2 separate regions of the Homo sapiens genome follow, and region 1 is linked to region 2. The links are contacts of gene promoters, found by promoter capture Hi-C in blood cells and fetal thymus (Javierre and others, 2016). All regions are on one chromosome and are shown on one strand. Each heading gives the region's core, a stretch centred on a gene start or on the middle of the fragment in contact. The rest is flanking DNA. Distances are from core to core; before and after follow the strand shown. Region 1 overlaps GBP7 (guanylate binding protein 7). Region 2 holds the start of GBP7 (guanylate binding protein 7).

Region 1 (2,700 bases), core at 166-2,665, 38 kb before region 2:
AATATTAGACAGATCATTGAGGCAAAAAACTAACGAAGATATTCAGGACCTAACTTGACATTTGACCAGATGGACCTAACAGACATCTACAGAACACTCCACCCAACAATAACAGAATATACATTCATCTCATCTGCACATGGCACATACTCTAAAATTGACTCCTTGCTCTGCCATAAAGCAATTCTCAACAAATAAAAAAAAAACCCAAATCATACCAATGCTGTCAGACCACAATGCTGTAAAAATAGAAATCAATACAAAGAATATCTCTCAAAGCTATACAATTACATGAAAATTAATTAATCTGCTTCTGAATGATTTTGGGGTAAACAGTGAATTTAAGGCAGAAATAAATTATTTGAAATTAATGAAAACAAAGATACAACCTACCAGAATCTTTGAGACACAACTAGAGCAGTGTTAAGAGGAATGTTAATAGCACTAAACGACTACAGTAGAAAGTTAGAAATATCTCAAATTAACAATCTAACATTACACCTTGAGGAACTAGAAAAACAAAAGTGAACCAAGCACAAAGCTAGCTGAGACAAGAAATAACCAAAATCAGACTTGAAGTGAATAAAGTGGAGACAAGAAAAACCATACAAAAGATCAATGAAACCAATGGTTCTCTGGAAAAATACATAAGATGGATATACTTCTAGTTAGACTAAAAAAGAACAAAAAAAGAGAAGATCCAAATAAACACAATAAAAAAATGGCAAAAGGGACATTGCTATCAACTCCACAGAAATACAAAAAATCCTGAGAGACTATTATGAACACCACTATGCACACTAACTAAGAAACCTAGAAGAAATGGATAAATTCCTGGAAACATACAACCTACCAAAAGTGAACCAGGAAGAAATTGAAACCTGGAACAGACTAATAACAAGTTCCAAAATTGGGTCAGCATTAAAAAGCCTACCAAGCAGAAAAAGCCCTAGACCAGACAGAGTCATAGTCAGTTCTGCCATACATAGAAAGAAGAGCTGGTACCAATTCTACTAAACTATTCCAAAAAAAATGGGGAGCAGGGAATCTTTCCTAATACATTCTATGAGGCCAGCATCATTCTGATTTTAAAAACCTGGCAGAGACACAACAAAAAAAGAAAAATGCAGGACAATATTCCTGATGAACATGGATGAAAAAATCTTCAACAAAATACTAGCAAACCAAATCCAGCAGCACATTAAAAAGCGAACCCACCACTGTCAATTAGGCTTTATTCCTGGAATGCAAGGTTGATTCAGCATATGCTAATAATAAATTGATTCCTCACACAAACGGGACTCAGAACAAAAACCAGATGATCTTCTCAATGGGCACAGAAAAGGCTTTTGATAAAATTCAATATTTCATGTTAAAATATCTCAACAAACTGGGCCTCAAAGGAACATACCTCAAAATAATAAAAGCCATCTATGAAAAACCCACAGCCAACATCATACTGAATGTGAAAAAGCTGGAAACATTTCACTTGAGAACCAAAAACAGACAAGGATGCCCACTCTCAACAACTCTTATTCAACATAGTACTGGAAGTCCTAGCCAGAGAAATCAGGCAAAGGGGAAAAAAAAAGTTATCCAATAGGAAGAGAGGAAGTCAAACTCTCTCTCTTCATAGACAATAGAATTCTGTAGTTAGAAAACTCCATAATTTCTGCCCAAAGTCTCATCCATCTGATAAACATCAGCAAAGTTTCAGGATAAAAAAGTAAATGTACAAAAATAAGTAGCATTTCTACACACCAATAATGTCCAAGCTGAAAGTCAAACCGAGAACACAATCCTATTCACAATAGCTATTGTGAATAACCAAGAATAAAATACCTAGGTTTACAGCCAATCAGGGAGGTGAAGCATCTCTACAATGAGAATTATAAAACACTGCTGAAAGAAATCTGAGACTGCACAAACAAATGGAAAATTATTTCATGCATATGGATAGGAAGAATCAATGTTGTTAAAATAGCCATACTGCCCAAATTGATTTACATATTCAATGCTATTCCTATCAAATTATCGATGACTTTTTAAAAATAGAATTAGTAAAAACTATTCTAACATCCACATGGAACAACAACAACAAAAAAACCCCGAGTAGCCAAGGCACTCCTAAGCAAAAAGAACAAAGCCAGAGACATCACATGACTTGAGTTTAAACTATATTACAAGACTACAATAACCAAAATAGCATGGTGCTGGTCAAAAAACAAAACAAAACAAAACAGACACATGAACAAATGGAAAAGTTTAAAGAAAGCAGAAATAATACCACACACCTACAACTATCTGATCTTTGGTAAAGCTAACAAAAAAAGCAATGGAGAAAGAATGCATTATTCAATAAATGGTGCTGGGTTAACTGGCTAGCTATATGCAGAAGATTGAAACTGGACCCCTTCTTCTCACTATATACAAAAATCAACTCAAGATGAGTTAAAGATGTAAATGTAAAATTTAAAACTATAAAACCACCAAAAGAAAACCTAGGAAATACCATTCTGGACATAGGCACTGGCAAAGATTTCCTGATGAAAACTTCAAAAGCCACTGCAACCGAACAAAAAGTTAACAAGAGGGACCTAATTCAACTAAAGAGTTCATGCACAACAAAGGAAACTATAAACAGAGTAAACAGACAACCTACAGAATGGGAGAAAATATCTGCAAACTATGCATCTGAAA
Region 2 (2,700 bases), core at 52-2,551:
CATTCACACGTTATTCATGCAAGCCTGATAGCTCGCACCTGACACTTACTCTGTTGATTTTTGACTTGATTATGTTAACAGATTTTGAATTCTCTGCATTTGAAGATTGATTCTTTATTACCTCCATGTATATCAGTCTGCATATTGTTTTTAATTATTTCATGTAATGAAGTCACAGCATGAAACATTCTTTGAAAAACCATGGCTTGTTTTTTGTCTGATCTCTGCTGTATAGAGAGTAGCATATGCACAATTGTAATCATGCTATCTTTATCCAGGGCTTGATAAATTAAATATTTTGATAATTTTGTAAAGTTAAAAGGAGTGAAAAGCCTTCTTGTAGTGATGCTTTAATTTTGTGTTTTTAAGTTGAATGTCTCAATCCTTGTAACTTATGTGATCATGATACAAAATATATAATCTCTTTAAGATACAAGCAAATATAGATGATAGATACTGCAGTTTTCTTTTTTATCCTATAATAAAGAGTGGTTTGTTTCCACTATAGAGTTGGTTACTTCTGACTTGTTCCTCTGGAGGTTTATATTAAATTATCTGGCTTCCCATCACTTCAGCAGAAGATGGAAAAAAAGCCGTTTATTTTTCTGTGATCATGACCCATTTCCTCTTATAGCAATGGCCTACAGGATCTGCTGGCAAGCAAGAAGGGCAAACCAGAAACTAAAAAGATTGGGTATCTATGGAAGATGAGTGAAAACAGAGTATGCGTCTGTCCAATTCTGTAGCATATACTATGCTACCATAACATAGGAATCAATCAGTCACCGGCTCAGAAAGGTGGTGGCACAAAGATGTTATAAGGTCCTGGATTATAATAATGTGTTGCCTCTTTTTGCAGATCCCAAGTTGCCTACCTTCATTTACCTAGAGCTATAAATGTTGGGCCCAATAAAGAAAGTGACAGAGCCTATTAGGCAGATATTTAAAGATAACAGTAATTTAAGATGGTGTCAGAAAAGAAATAACAATCTTAGAACACTGGCTTCTCTGAATATCTGTTCCACCTCTGCTGAAGCCTAATCTGACACAGCAGGAATTAGAGCACACTAAGGTACACACAGCCACCTAAGAGGCCAGGATTTCATCTGGACTTGTATCCTGTAGCTGGCTCAGCTGCAGCCTATCTTGGGGATGGTCAACTTAGAGAAAACTAATGGATCCTTATAAATCATGAAATCCTTATAAGTCATAGTCTTACCCAGAGTAGAGATCCTCTGGACTTGGTAAGAAGGCAGCTTCAATGAGAAAGTTATGAGTCTTTATTCTCTTCTCTTTAGTTCTGAATTTGGCTGCACTGATTTCTCCCACTTTTTTTCTTGCTGGAACTTTGGACTTTTACCTTACCTCTCCAATGTCATGGGGCTTTCCAGACTTTCTAGAGACCTGTATTTATACATGTAAAAAACAATGCAACCTCTGCAAATAAATAGAGTAATATGACAGTCCATGATTTAGCAACAATAAAAGAAATTGCTGACAGCTGTGCTAGTGAGAGGATTTGACATAATTTCTCAAACAGAATCTTCCAATTTTATTATTGGAAGAGATCTTAGAGACAGCTTGCGATTATTAAAAAAACTTCAATGAATCGTTTAAAATAATGACATTCATCTCATGTTTGTGGGCCACATTGAGAAGTACAGGAATAAGAAAGCTTAATATAATATTATTTAGGTTCAATTGGCTTGAATATTAGACTCTTAAAATGGAACTCATTATTTGTGTTTAATAATGAGGACTCTAAATGCCCTGAAGGAATGTCCACGTCTTATACATGTTTGAATTATTAGCACCTAACTCAGGTCTTGGCACTTAACATTTAATAAATAATAATGAAGATAGTACCCGTTTTGTTTACATAGATTATCCCATTGTATTCTTATCACAAATACTTTTACCACAATGTTAAAAGAGGGATTTAATAATTTATTACAATTACAGAGCTACTAAATAAGATTTGGGCCCAAGAAGTCTTGCTGTCAGTCACTTCATTAAAATACCTCTGTGTTTGCTGAGTGTACAATAACAATGTTTTCTCCTTATCAGTTCCATTCTAGGCCATATTCTTTACACATACCATTTTAAATATCAAAATACCTCAAGATAAAGGTTGTTTATTATCCCCATTGTCCAAGGGGGAAAAATAATCAGAAAACGGGTAATTAATATGTCTAACTAAAGCCATTGAGCTACACACCAAGGTAGCAAGTAATTGAGCGAGATTCAAACTTGAAAATCCATTTGGTTAAAACCACATTGATTCTCTACTGCACATTGTCTCTAAAAGAGAGGAAGGTGGGAAGCGGGGAAGAGAGAGAGAGAAATGGAGAGCAGAGAGTAAGACTTCTCTGTGTGTGTGTGAATATTGATGAGATTTAAAGTGAAAGTAAGGCAGGGTTATTTCAAAACAGAACTATTGCTAGGAAATCACCTGCTTCTAAGTAATAAAATCTATTGTTTATATCATGCAAACAAAAAATAGCCCCAGGCAAAATTGAATCTTTGTGAATCATGTATAATTTAAGGGTACATAAATTTATAAGAAAAAAAGATCCCACTTTCCCAACTTGTGTTTTTTTTTTTTGAGACAGAGTTTCTCTCTTGTTGCCCAGGCTGGAGTGCAATGGTACAATCTTCGCTCACTGCAACCTCCACCTCCTGGGTTCAAGCGATTCTCCT

The links. Contacts are between HindIII fragments. The CHiCAGO score rates a contact against its expected background, and 5 or more counts as called.
Region 1: a fragment that was not itself captured here is called in contact with the fragment with the promoter of GBP7 in region 2 in 1 of 17 cell types (activated CD4 T cells); the score reaches 8.3 in activated CD4 T cells.

Annotation. Positions count from the first base shown.
Region 1 is chr1:89,136,238-89,138,937 of GRCh38, forward strand. The region is part of intron 9 of GBP7 (guanylate binding protein 7); the gene reads right to left. All of the region lies in intron 1 of LOC105378842 (a long non-coding RNA gene), which reads left to right. Among named protein-coding and RNA genes, the nearest start is that of GBP2, 11 kb to the left of the region's middle. The HindIII fragment of the contact is 8,826 bases long and covers 1-2,700 here.
Region 2 is chr1:89,174,702-89,177,401 of GRCh38, forward strand. GBP7 (guanylate binding protein 7) reads right to left here and starts at 1,302. Exons shown (of 11, transcript NM_207398.3): 1 at 1,220-1,302. The region is part of intron 3 of LOC105378842 (a long non-coding RNA gene); the gene reads left to right. The HindIII fragment of the contact is 1,918 bases long and covers 1-1,673 here.